Linked DNA regions of Homo sapiens: region 1 is linked to region 2. The links are contacts of gene promoters, found by promoter capture Hi-C in human tissues and cell types (Jung and others, 2019). All regions are on one chromosome and are shown on one strand. The core of a region is centred on a gene start or on the middle of the fragment in contact, and the rest is flanking DNA. Distances in the headings are between cores, read along the strand shown. Region 1 holds the start of CDC42EP2 (CDC42 effector protein 2). Region 2 holds the start of SF1 (splicing factor 1).

Region 1 (7,096 bases), core at 4,007-6,506, 540 kb before region 2:
CCTTGCAGGGAATTGTACTGGGAGAAGCATGTCTTCACTCTAAGACCTACTGCATCTTATAGACTCACCACCAGGGCCAAGCTCCTCCCCTTACAGGTGGGAAACTGAGGTGGGAACCTGAATGACAGGTCCAAAGTCACACAGAAAGTCCTGCTCTATTCTCTTGCCCTGGGTCCCCGGCAAAGTAGGTCTCATCACCCTTATCCAGGTACTCATACCATACCCCCCACCTCCATTGCACATCACCTGTGCCCCACAATGTAAGTGCCAGATTGTGGGGGGCCTCACAAATGGCCTTGACTCCCTACTTGACCAAGGACAGAGAGCTTTGTGACCACTGTCTCTCCCGCCCAAGCCTGGCGGGGACCTGGAGCACAGCAGATGTTTGGCCAAGGGTGCTGGGTGGCTGGCACTTCCCATTTGACCCAATCATGTCCCACCTGGAGGTGGGGTCGTGTTTTCTCCTCTGCCTATTAAGAGTTCCTTATGGGTAGGGGCTGAGTCTAGGATACTTTCTGGCCTTCCTCCCTACCCTGGCATCTAAAGAGAAGGTGGAGTGGGGAGTACATATATTTTTTAGTTGAGGGGGCCTCTGCTCTGTACCTGAAATTCTTCTGCGCTCTTTGCAGACACATCTCAATTAATCAACACAACCACCCTATTATCAACCCTATTTAAAAATCAGAGGTGTTGGGGCTGGGTGCAGTGGCTCACACCTGTAATCGCAGCACTTTGGGAGGCTGAGGCAGGTGGATCACGAGGTCAGGAGATCAAGACCATCCTAGCTAACATGGTGAAACCCTGTCTCTACTAAAAGTACAAAAAATTAGCCAGGCGTGGTGGTTCATGCCTGTGGTCCCAGCTATTTGGGAGGCTGAGGCAGGAGAATCGCTTGAACCCCGGAGGTGGAGGTTACAGTGGGCCGAGATCGCCCCACGGCACTCCAGCTTCAGCTACAGAGGAAGACTCCATCAAAAAAAAAAAAAAAATCAGAGGTGTCAAAATTCAAAATTGAACCTGAGGTGAACCTACAGGTGAAAAATTTTGGAGGATTCCCACAGGGCATTGCAGAGAGAGAGAAGCAAAATGCAAAAACATAATATAGATCATCCATTTATTGAAAGCATTGACTACCTACCTGCCTCCCTGCTCTGACACATATGCATGTTGTGTAACTGCATGGGTACAGGTCTGTGTAGAATTCTGTCCTATACAAAAAAAAAAAAAAAAAAAAAAAAAAAAAAAAAAAAAAAGTCAGGTGCAGTGGCTCACTTCTGTAATCCCAGCACTTTGGGAGGCCGAGGTGGGCGGATCACCTGAGATCAGGAGTTCGAGACCAGCCTGGCCAACATGTGGAGACCCCATCTCTACTAAATATACAAAAATTAGCCAGGTGTTAGGCCGGGCGCGGTGGTTCACGCCTGTAATCCCAGCACTTTAGGAGGCCGAGGCGGGCGGATCATGAGGTCAGGAGATCGAGACCATCCTGGCTAACACGGTGAAACCCCGTCTCTACTAAAAATACAAAAAATTAGCCGGGCATGGTGGCTGGCGCCTGTAGTCCCAGCTACTCGGAAGGCTGAGGCAGGAGAATGGCGTGAACCCGGGAGGCAGAGCTTGCAGTGAGCTGAGATCGCACCACTGCACTCCAGCCTGGGGGACAGAGAGTGTCTCCATCTCAAAAAAAAAAAAAAAAAAAATTTGCCAGGTGTGGTGGCGCAGGTCTGTAATACCAGCTACTCGGGAGGCTGAGGCAGAAGAATTACTTAAACCCGGGAGGCAGAGGCTGCAGTGGGCCTAGATCGCGCCACTGCACTCCAGCCTGGGCAACAGAGAGAGTCTCCGTCTCAAAAAAAAAATTTGCCAGGTGTGGTGGCACAAGTCTGTAATACCAACTACTCAGGAGGCTGAGGCAGAAGAATTGCTTGAACCCAGGAGGCAGAGGTTGCAGTGGGCCTAGATCGTGCCACTGCACTCCAGCCTGGGTGACAGAGTGAGACTCCGCCTCAAAAAAAATAAAAAAAATTAAAAAAAAAATTTAAAACACAGAGAAAAATCTAGAAGGCCAGCCCTAGGTTGTCATATGGGCTACCTTGACTAGGGTACACAGCAGGGATGGGGGGTGGGGTCACTGATATGGGAGGAAAGGAGTCATCAATAAAAATAACCTATAATATTTTGGTCCCATGACTATGACATGATAAATGTGTGTAATATATATAAATATGAAAAGATGGAACAGTGGTTTTCTCAAAGTGGTAGAATTTCAGGTTGATGTTTCCTTTCTTGTTCAGACCTCTATGAATTCAAATTCTTACTAATAAGCAATGTATTATTTATATGCACATATTTATGTAGTCAGAAAAAAATTAAGCTATTTTTAATGTGTAAAAATAAATAGCTATGAAGGGGTGTCATACTGATTTAACAGAAAAAAGAAATGAAGCAAGCACTCCCTCTGCTTGAGGGTGGGGGACGCACATGGGACCTGATTGGTCCAGTACACATGAGCCCAGATGTAGACTCAGCATAAAAGGCAAAGAGAGAAACTTGTCCAAGGTCACCCAGTGAGTAAGGGCAGCATGGGAATTCAAGCCAGATGAGCCCACCCTCCTGTACCACTCCCTCCCCAGGCCCAGCCAGGGGCTCACCAAAGGTGGCTCTTGCCAGTTCTTTGCCTCAGTTTTCATTCTGGGCAGGGTGAGGGTGGGGGTGAGGGGGTTGGGAGGCGGGAGCAGGAAGGAGGAAGGAGGATGCAGGAGAAGCAGAGTCCAACTGCCCCCCTCCCCCCACCAGCTGAGGCCCTTGCTCAGGAAACCCCACCCCAGGACCGGACACCCGGGTCAGTCGTACTGAGCCACAGAGGCCGGACATCTTACCCCTCCCAGAGCACCTGGAGCTTAACAGGAAACAAAGGAATGACTCTCCCGTGGCGGAAATCCAGCTCAGCTTGCAAGGAGCTGGGGGAAGGGTGGGGACGCATGGGCACCCTGAGGTCTTGGAATCCCGTCACGCATTCATCCTGTGTCAACCATGCCAGGCCTGGGGGCCATGCTGACAAACATGCAATTTGTCGCTCGTCAGGAGAGAAGTCCTGGGGGGGGCTTGTCTTCCTTTTCACTCATGGAGCGTGGGGCTGACTGGTGGGATGTACCCAGAGCCTGGGCCAGGTCCTCCCCGCACCCCCAACCCCATCACACGGCAGCGCCAAGACAGCCTGAGTGTTTCCACAACAAATTGGGCGTCCCTGACAGCTGTCTCACTCACAGCCAGATGTACACACCCAATTCCAGATGTGGGGAGAATCGAGGGTGAGGCCAGCATCAGCGGCCCAGGGGAGAGCTGGGAATTACAACCCTCACGCCCCAGGAATTTAGATTTGGCAACTGCAAGACCCTAGGATCCAGCTTGCCACGCACAGTTTCTCATCTTAAAGCTCCCAGTCACGGCATGGTGGGGTCATTACGGCCCTTTACAGAAGTCGAAGCTGAACCTCAGAGATGTTAAGTAACATTGGCGACGTCATCCAGTTAGGAAGTGGAAGAGTGGGTACCCAGCCTGGTCCACGTGGTTCCCATGCAGTGGGCCACGCCTACTTCCATAATATGTTTGGGGAGCGGGAGAGAAAGGGGCTCACAGCTAGGCTGGGAACAGTGGGTCCCCAGATCTCCTCCATCTACATCCTGACCTTTGGCTGCCCCCGTCTGCCCAACTTTCATGTGTCCAGAGATATGAGAATGAGGTCTCCATCAGGACAGGGCTGTGGGGAGCTGGGAGGGGAGCTCCCTGCAGCAGTCGGGGAGCAGATAGGAGCATCCTAGCTCTCTGTGATTGCCCTGGACAGGAGCCCTGGACCTCCCAATGAGAAAATGACTTCCGGCAGGCAGGGATCCTCCTATCATGAAGAATATTAGGCCACCTCACACCCCCTCTTCTCCTAAATCAGGAGACTGTCCTTAAATCCAGCTCCACCTGGGACTTCCTCAGTAACCTTCAGCAAGACGCCTCTCCTCTCTGGGTCTCACCTTTCCCATCTATAAAATGGGCTGACAACGAAGCCACCACTAAAGGGCCACTGGAGATCCCACTGCAATATTGCAGGTGAGAGCGCCAATGTACAATAGCGGGGTTCAGCGGGTCACTGTAGGTTTTATCATTCATTCAGCAAATATCTACAAGGCCTTCCTTCCTCAAGCACTTCGATTCTCCGGGGCCAGTGCTTTGAACAATAGCAAAAACGAAGGGCTCCTGACCCCAGGCGTCCACCTCCTCCCGCCCTCCTAGACCTCGAGGATGCAGAGACCCTCTAGCGGCCGCTGGGTCTCCCGGGGTCCCGGTGCCTCCGGAGAGGTGCCCGGCTCCGCGGCCGCCAGGTGGCGCGCGTGCTCCCTTGATCGCCTCGTGTCCCGGAGGACTCCGAGAGCGCACCGGGGTCTCCAGCGCCCCTCCCCCGGGCTCCAGGCAGGCGGTCCCCAAGGAGCTGCGCGTTCAAGTACCAGATGGGGATTACCTGCGAGATCTTTTTGCTTCGGGGTTTCTGGTCCCACAATCGGGGAAAAAGGGGGCGATTGGGGACCCTGCCCTAGTCTCCAAGCTCTGGGAGGAGCCTCCCCCCTGTGCTTTCCGGCCTGGGCGATGTCCTAGTGTCCGCTCGGCACAGGGCCAGAGCTCGGGCGTGCGGGCCCCCGCCCCTCCCACGGGTCCGGCTCCTTAGCTCCGGCTCGGGTTCCTGCGCCGACCCCTCCCCACTCCTACCCGGGCGGAGCCCAGCCCAGCCCGGATCCGTTTCAGGACATTCGCGGCCGCAGCTAAAGATAGGAGAACAACTCACTATCGGCTAAAAATACGGCCCCCAGCCCCGGTGGGGATGCTGGGCGGCGGGGCACCCCTGGGTCTCGGGAGGGGGGCGGGGGCCCGGACACAAAATGGAGGGCAGAACGGGGAATTCGGGGTCGGGATGCGTTGCGCCCCCACGGACCGTGGCGGGCACGGGCGAGGCTGCGGGAACCCAGATGCGGGTGGGAAGCCCCATGGAGCCCTAGGAGCCCTCGAAAGGAACTGAGTGAGGTGAGAGGCAGAGCCAGGGCGCGAGCTGGGGCGGGGCGCCACAGAGATGGGCCTCTCGGGGGACCCCCGCGAAGCTGCGAAAATCCCAGCCCGAACTCACCGTGAGGCGCGCAGACGGCAGACCGGCGGACAGCAAGGTCTCAGGAGCTGGACAGCGCGGCGGCCGGACCCGACCGGCGGTGAACTTACAGAGTGCACCGCGGACCCCGCAGCCCCGCCCCGGCCCGCGGAGCCAATGCCGGGGCCGCGCCAGCCAAGCCCCTCCCCATCCCCGCCCAGGCCCCGCCCCACTCCGGGCACCGCCCGGGGCTCCCGGCGTGGGAGGTGCCGCTCCCGGGTCCAGCGGTCGCGCGCGCCCTGGAGTCCTGTCCTGGTTCTGGCGGCTGAGGGCCGGGTGGCGCAGGCGGCCTCCGGCTGTGCCCATGGGAACTAAAACCTTCGGTTCTAGAAGAGCCGGGGGAGAGGCTCCGGGAAGACCGAATTCTTCAGAAATCGCAGAGAGACCTTGGACCGGATCCTTCCCTGCAGGGCTGCGTCGGGGAAGCGCCGGCACAAGTATATTCAGCGACTTCCTTGGAAGCGCCTACGTTAGAATACTACAAACTTACAAGCTAGTTGATCAGTTTACCTCCCACTAGAAAAGACAGTATGGGAAGGCAGAGGCCGCGTGGCCTGGACCCCCGTCTTTGCTGTCAGGCTTCCAGAGTGAAGGTGGGGCTCATATTCAGACTAGTTCCTGGTCCATTCATTCTTTCAGTCAGTCAGTCAGTCATTCCTACAGGGCCAGAAACTTTTTTTTTTTTTGAGACAGAGTTTCGCTCTTGTTGCCCAGACTGCTCACCGCAACCTCCGTCTCCTGGGTTCAAGAGATTCTCCTGCCTCAGCCTCCCGAGTAGCTGGGATTACAGGCATGTGCCAGCACACCTGGCTAATTTTTGTATTCTTAGTAGAGACGGAGTTTCTCCATGTTGGCCAGGCTGGTCTCGAATTCCCGACCTCAAGTGATCTGCCCGCCTCGGCCTCCCGAAGTGCTGCAATTACAGGCGTGAGCCACCGCGCCCGGCCCAGAAACATGTTTTGAAGGGCAGGCACCGCACAGGGTGCTGGAGACAGACTGAAGGAAACTGCACCTCTCAGTGACTCAAGAGAGATTTGTTGAGTATCTACCAAGTGCCTAGCGCTGTTCTTGTCCCTGGGGATTCAGCCTCTGGATTGGGACCTGCAGCCCAGAGAAGGGAAATGGGGGAAATCCAAGTTCCCAGGTACATCATGATACCCTTCCAGGTGGGTAAGTGCTAAGAAGAGTGGGGCAGAGGAAGTGGTGGGTAGTGACGGGGTGGACAGACCTCACTTTCTAGAGGATGACAGCTATGCCAGCTCAGTGTGACCAGGATGGTTGGCTTCAATGCTGTCAGTGTGGGAAGGGCTTTTAGGGAGGCAGAGCCGGGAAGACCTCAGTGGGGGAGGCAGGATGCTGGGGGTGGGGGAAGATGCCAGACAAGCTGGGAGGTCCGGATGGGAAGAAGGGGATCATGGTAGGTAAAATAACAGCCCCCCTAAATATGTTCACATCTAGCCAGGTGCTGTGGCTCATGCCTATAATCCCAGCACTTTGGGAGGCCAAGGTGGGAGGATTGCTTGGGTCCAGGAGTTTGACACTGACACCAGCCTGAGCAACATAGTGAGACCCTGTTTCTACAACAAATAAATTAGCCGGACATGGTGGCTCAAGCCTGTAGTCCCAGGTACTCTGGAGGCTTAGGTAGGAGAATTGCTTGAACCTGGGAGGTTAAGGCTGCAGTGAGCTGTGATCACGCCACTGCACTCCAGCCTGGGCAATAGAGCAAAAACCCATGTAAAAAAAAAAAAAGAAAAGAAAAAAAGCCCACATCCGAACCTGTGTAATCTATGAATATGTTTTGTTACATGAGAAATGGAAATGAAAATTGCCAATGAGGGCTGGGCGCCGTGGCTCATGCCTGTAATCCCAGCACTTTGGGAGGTCAAGGCAGGTGGATCACGAGGTCAG
Region 2 (6,844 bases), core at 4,117-6,616:
GAGTCTCGCTCTGTTGCCCAGGCTGGAGTACAGTGGCGTGATCTCAGCTCACTGCAAGCTCTGCCTCCCGGGTTCACGCCATTCTCCTGCCTCAGCCTCCTGAGTAGCTGGGACTACAGGCACCTGCCACCACACTCAGCTATTTTTTTTTTTGTATTTTTAGTAGAGATGGGGTTTCACCGTGTTAGCCAGGATGGTCTCAATCTCCTGACCTCATGATCTGCCTGCCTCGGCCTCCCAAAGTGCTGGGATTACAGGTGTGAGCCACCGCACCCAGCCTTTTTTTTTTTTTTTTTTTTTTTTTTTTGAGACAGGGTCTCCCTCTGTCACTCAGGCTTCAGTGCAGTGGTGTGATCACAGCTTATTGCAGCCTCAAACTCTTTGGGGTCAAACAATCCTCCTGCCTCAGCCTCCCAAGTAGCTGGAACTACAGGCACACATCACGCTCAGCTGATTATTATTATTTTTGTTTCTGTAGAGACATTCTCCCTATGTTGCCCAGGCTGGTTTCGAACTCCTGGCCTCAAGCAATCCTCCTGCCTTGCCTTCCCAAAGTGCTGAGATTACAAGTGTGAGCCACTGCACCCAGCCCTTGGTGCATTTCTCAATGCCTATAGTTATATAATGTTGCAAAAATGGAATCATGTAATACATTTGTTAAGCGTATGAAGCATTTTTTTTTTAACTTTGGATTTTTAGGCTGGGTTTGGTGGCTCACGCCTGTAATCCCAGCACTTTGGGAGGCTGAGGCGGGCGAATCACTTGAGATCAGGAGTTTGAGACCAGCCTGGCCAACATGGTGAAACCCCGTCTCTACTAAAAATACAAAAATTAGCCAAGCATGGTGGCGCATGCCTGTAATCCGAGCTACTCTGGAGGCTGAGTCACGAGAATCGCTTGAACCCAGGAGGAGGAGGTTGCAGTGAGCCAAGATCATGCCACTGCACTCTGGTCTGGGTGACAGAGCAAGACTCCATCTCATAAGAAAAAAAAAAAAAAAAGTTGGATGTTTAAGATGTGTTGGGCAACTTCCAGCCGCCCATTTCACTCTGCAATAGAGCATGTGCTGTGTATCCTTCTGTAGCCTTTGTTATGCTCAGATAATCATATGCAAACATGCACACATCTGTATGGGGTTTGTGTTACAAAAACAAAGCCATGTCATATGTATTTCTTTGTTAACACAGAACAGTAGTTACTTTAGGTTGGTTGGTATGAATTAACAGCTTTTCAAAGCTGCCTAATATTCTAGGTTATGGGTTTTCCAATTCAGTCGTTCATATATTGATGGAAATTCACTCTGTTTGCCCATTTTTACCACTACAAACAATGCTGCAGTAAATGCAGAAGACTTTGAAAACATTATATAATCACATGGCTTGTTTGGGGGCAGATTCCCAGGAGTGGGATATTGGATCGAAAGGGTTTATGTTTTCTTTCTTTTGAGACAGAGTCTCACTCTGTCGCCCAATCACAGCTCACTTCTGCCTTTACCTCCTGGGCTCAAGGGATCCTCCCACCTCAGCTTCACAAGTAGCTGTGAGTACAGGTGCATATTTTTTTATTTTTTGAAAGGGGGAACAATTTTAATAGACAACAGAATGCTTTCTAAAAGATTAACGATAGTAGGTGTTAGCACATTTATGTTCTGCTATTTTCATTTATTTTGAGATTCCTCATTATCACCTTAATTTGTATTTCCCTTATAGGCAGTGTCTAAATACTGGTAAATAAATTAGCTAGTCTCAGTCGCACAAACTCAGCACAGTCTAAGGTGGTACTGCTATAACAGAATCCCTGAGACTGGGTAATTTATTTATTTGAGACAGGGTCTTGCTCTGTTGCTCAGGCTGGATTGCAGTGGCGTGATCATAGCTCATTGCAGCCTTGATCTCCTGGGCTCAAGTAATCCTCCTGCTTCAGCCTCTTGTGTAGCTGGGACTATAGACATGGACCACCATGACCAGCATTTTTTTTTTATTTTTTATTTTTTTAGTAGATGTTGCCCAGGCTGGTCACAAACTTCTGAGCTCAAGAGATCCTCCCACCTCAGACTCTCAAAGTGCTGGGATTACAGGCATTAGCCACCACACCCAGTCTGGGTAATTTATAAAGAATAGAGATTTCTGGCTGGGCACGGTGGCTCACGCCTATAATCCCAGCAGTTTGGGAGGCCAAGGTGGGTGGATCACCTGAGGTAAGGAGTTCGAGACCAGCCTGGCCAACATGGTGAAACCCTGTCTCTATTAAAAATACAAAAAATTAGCCAGGCATAGTGGCGGCACCTGTAATCCCAACTACTTGGGAGGCTGAGGCAGGAGATTCATGTTGGCCAGGCTGGTCTCGAACTCCTGACCTCAGGTGATCCACCCACCTCGGCCTCCCAAAGTGTTGGAGCCACCGCGCCTGGATGGAGATTAAGTTTCTAACACATGAGCTTTGGGGGACACATTCAAACCTGTCCACCTAAAGTAATCAAAAGGGTCAGAATCTAATTTCAATAGTTTATTCAAGCACAAAACATGAGGGTGGACTACCTGGAAACACCGACTCCAAATGAATGGAGTCAGTGTTTCGAAGTAGAGAAGTTAAGGTTTCATTTACACACACAAAGGCAGAGGAGTTTTAGGATTACATTCTTCATATATGGTCAGTGCGTACTTACAGTAATTTGGTTATAGGCCGAGTGCAGTGGTCCACTCCTGTAATCCCAGCACTTTGGGAGGCCGAGGCGGGCAGATCACCTGAGGTCAGGAGTTCAAGACCAGCCTGGCCAACATGGTGAAATTCCATCTTTACAAAAATGTAACAATTAGCTGGGCATGATGGCAGGTGGCTGTAATCCCGGCTACTCAGGAGGCTGAGGTGGGAGAATCGCTTGAATCTGGGAGGCAGAGGGTGCAGTGAGCCGAGATTGTGCCATTGCACTCCAGCCTGGGCGACAGAGCCAGACTCTGTCTCAAATTGAAATAATAATAATAAATAATTTGGTTGTAAGCAGTGTTTCTTTTTGGGAGGCATACATTTAACATTTTTTACAGAGGGTGTAATAGTCATGGGTTTGCTGTCATCTGGTCTAAGTAAAGCAGGACAACAAAAGGGAAGTTATCTATAAGAAGGGTCATTAAGAAGGCAGCAGGTTTTTGTCCCATGTTTAATTCTCTCCAATAATTGTACAGAACAAGAAAAACAAGCAGGTCTAATTTATTATCTCAGAAAAAATTATAACCATACATGGCTGAGATCACAGTCACCTCTCTCTCCAGGTTTCAAGTGTTGTGGGGGTTCCAACATCTTTTCTATTTATTTTAAAAAACCACAGCAGAGGGGTTGTGCACCCTTTCATATTTCTTGGCTATTTGGATTTGTTCTTCTGAGACATGTCCATTCCTATTTTTTGCTCATTTTCTATTGTTTTTGCCTTTTTTCTAATTAGTTTTTAAGATGTATTTGTATATTACAGGTATTGGCTCTTTATCATGTATGGCAAATATTTTTTCCTCATCTATCATTGTCTCTTGACTTTTATCAGTGTTAATTTTCGGGGTAATCAAGTATATCTTTTTACAGTTTGAGGTTCCTGTCTTTGCAGTCTCTCAACCCCTAGAATACCCTTATAGTCTCCTAAATTATATTCTAAATGTTTTGTTGTTTAAATTTAAGATTCTACGCCATTTATCAACGAAATCATCTTTTCCTGATTGAAATAAAATACTACATTTGTGGTATTTCCGGATTCTGTTGCACTAATGTGTCTTTCCTACCAACAATATCATATTGTTTTATTATTGTGGTTTTTTGTTTTTGAGACGGAGTCTCATGCTGTTGCCCAGGCTGGAGTACAGTGGTGCGATCTCAGCTCACTACACCTCCGCCTCCTGGGTTCAAGCAATTCTCCTGCCTCAGCCTCCTGAGAAGCTGGGATTATAGGCGTCTGCCACCACGCTCGGCTAATTTTTGTACTTTTAGTAGAGACGGGGGTTTCACCGTGTTGGTCAGGTTGGTCTCGAACTCCTGACCTCAGGTGATCCCCCCGCCTTGGCCTCCCAGTGCCTTGGCACTGGCCTATTGTGTTTTATATACTATGTTTGTCATCTGGAAAGGCAAGCTCCTGCTCCGTCTTGTAAAGTTTTCCCAGTACTGTAGTAGTTATTTTTATTTTTATTTTTGACAGTCTCGCTCTGTCACCCAGGCTGAAGTGCAGTGGCCCCATCTCGGCTCACTGCAACCTCCGCCTCCCGGGTTCAAGCGATTCTCTTGCCTCATCCTCCTGGGAAGCTGGGATTGCAGGAGTGCACCACTACACCCAACTAATTTTTGTATTTTTCGTAGAGACGGGGTTTCGCCATGTTGGTCAGGCTGGTCTCGACCTTCTGACCTTGTGATTCGCCCGCCTCGGCCTGTCAAAGTGCTGGGATTACAGGCGTGAGCCACCGCGCCCGGCCGTAGTTATTGTTTTATACGATTTTAAGATCATTTAATTAAATCCTCTGAACTCCGTGGAGATTCCAATAGAAGTGTGTATTTGTAATTTTTGAACTGACAACCTTCTGTTACCTTTCATCTAATATGTTGTTGCATCAGTTCAAATACTGTTTTAAATCCTTCGATAAGTCGTCTCTATTCGTAGCTTTTTGGGTCACTTTTTTTTTTTTTTTTTTTTTCCAAAAAAACAGGAAGTCTTTTTACCTGCAGCGTCAACTGAGCCGGTTTTCCGGCGCGCGCCAGCCCCTCCCCTGCTCCCGCCCCAAGGTTCTGCGTTACCATGGGAACAAAGGTTGACGTCACTTAGGGCTTCCTTGCTGGACCCAAGGGTCGATGGTGAAGGGAGACGGGTGGAGAGGCGGTTTTGCTCCATCTACGCATGCGCACTTCCTGCTCCAGGACTCCCCCGCCGTAAATCTCGTTCCGGCTGGGCCTTTTCCGCCGCGACTCTCGCTTAATCCCGGAGAAACTGCCCCCTGGGGGAGGGGAGTAGAAAAAGGCTGGAACCAGCGACAGCCAATCCCGCGACACTACAACGCAGGCGAGATTGATTGAGTCCACCACCGCAGCCAATGAGAGAGCTCGCCGTCGCTCCGTCATAGAGTTCGCCCCACCCCATCCCCTCCTTTCTGGACTCGGAGCTCAGTTCACGCAGTAACAAATGAAGTGCGCGCTGCGACACCTCCCAGCCCACCGAACTCCGCCGCCATTTCCTCGCTTGGCCTAACGGTTCGGCCAATCCCAGCGCGCATCAAGAAGGACTGAGGCTCCGCCAATCGGAGGCCGCCGATTTCGACCCTTCGCCTCGGCCCGGCCCAATCCAGGCCCCGGCCCCGCCGCCCCCGGCCCGCCCCCGCGGTGCCCTCTCTCCTCCCTCTTTGTGCGTCTCGCGCCGCCGCCGCCCGCCGCGTGAGAGGACGGGCTCCGCGCGCTCCGGCAGCGCATTCGGGTCCCCTCCCCCCGGGAGGCTTGCGAAGGAGAAGCCGCCGCAGAGGAAAAGCAGGTGCCGGTGCCTGTCCCCGGGGGCGCCATGGCGACCGGAGCGAACGCCACGCCGTTGGGTAAGCTGGGCCCCCCCGGGCTGCCCCCGCTCCCCGGGCCCAAAGGAGGCTTCGAGCCGGGCCCTCCGCCTGCACCCGGGCCTGGGGCGGGGCTGCTGGCTCCCGGGCCGCCGCCGCCCCCGCCCGTGGGCTCGATGGGGGCCCTGACCGCGGCCTTCCCCTTCGCGGCGCTGCCTCCGCCGCCTCCGCCGCCGCCCCCTCCGCCTCCCCAGCAGCCGCCGCCGCCTCCACCGCCACCGTCCCCCGGCGCCTCGTACCCGCCGCCGCAGCCGCCCCCTCCGCCGCCGCTCTACCAGCGCGTGTCGCCGCCGCAGCCGCCGCCACCCCAGCCGCCGCGTAAGGACCAGCAGCCGGGCCCGGCCGGCGGCGGAGGAGGTGAGTCGGGCCGAGAGAGCGCGAGAGGCGTCGCGCGGACGGGCCCGGCCGCCTGAGGGGCGCGCGGCGGCGGCGACGGCGGCTGCACGCGGCAGGGGCGCGCGTGCGCGCACGGGGAGGCCCGGGCGGAGGCGCCCCTGGGCGCGCGCGGCCTGGTTCTAGGGCCTCGAGTGCGCACGCGCGCTGTGGGGGGAGGGCTGGGCGGGCGGGAGGCGCTCTGTGCGCAGACGCAGTGAGGTGGCCGGGCTGTGCGGCGCAACTGTATAGACTGGGGGCCCACTATTGCTGTCCAGTCCGCTGGTGTCGGGAACAGGGGTGGCGGGTGTTCAGCGCTGGACGGGGTGCTAGCTGTGAATGCCAGCAGGGCGTGAAAGCCTCACCTGATGACGTGCAGCGACTCCCTTCTGGTCTTGAGGAACCAGAATGGGAACCGTACCAAGGATAGCTCCTCTGCTTCTACAGCAAGGCAGGGTTTTCATCCGGGAGAGGTTGGCATGCTTCAGATGATGGTTGGGTCTGATCTTTCTTGGTCTCTTTTGGGGAGAGAATTTTAGTTTGTTTTTTTTTTTAAATCTGTTCAGTATGTTTAGATCTCAGTCTGATCGGCTGCCCTGTCGCTTTGTTTTAAAAAGCTTTTCCCTCTGATCCTGTACCCCTTGGGAAATAGAAGGACTCTTTTGTGGCAAATGTAGGGAGTTTCTGCCTATGTACGGGGAAAGGAGAACTTGGCTGCTATTGTATAGGTTGTTGAATTTTTGATAGATCCTTTTAAGAGTTCAGACCCTCAGTGTCCAACTGGCCAGGAAAACTGAATGCTGATCTTGGCTAAACTTATGAAGACAAAGGTGATCTTGTTGAAGAATTGGGCTTTTCCCACTTGGTAGGGTGTAACTAGGTTTAGTTGTGGTCCGGCCTCTCGTACA

What was found. The method cuts DNA at HindIII sites, captures the fragments that hold promoters and counts their contacts. A contact is called where the count stands out against the background at its distance.
Region 1: a contact is called between the fragment with the promoter of CDC42EP2 here and the fragment with the promoter of SF1 in region 2, in 1 of the 25 tissues and cell types used here (lymphoblastoid cells).

The regions. Positions count from the first base shown.
Region 1 is chr11:65,313,026-65,320,121 of GRCh38, reverse strand. It overlaps CDC42EP2 (CDC42 effector protein 2), which reads right to left and starts at 5,256. Exons shown (of 2, transcript NM_006779.4): 1 at 5,168-5,256. It overlaps LOC105369344 (a long non-coding RNA gene), which reads left to right and starts at 5,433. Exons shown (of 3, transcript XR_007062727.1): 1 at 5,433-6,351. RefSeq lists silencers at 791-1,014, 4,299-4,458, 4,629-4,758, 5,219-5,598. The HindIII fragment of the contact is 18,736 bases long and covers 1-7,096 here.
Region 2 is chr11:64,777,064-64,783,907 of GRCh38, reverse strand. It overlaps SF1 (splicing factor 1), which reads left to right and starts at 5,366. Exons shown (of 13, transcript NM_004630.4): 1 at 5,366-5,546. The coding sequence starts at 5,516. RefSeq lists enhancers at 4,902-5,011, 4,988-5,589 and silencers at 5,252-5,651, 5,912-6,221. The HindIII fragment of the contact is 16,194 bases long and covers 1-6,831 here.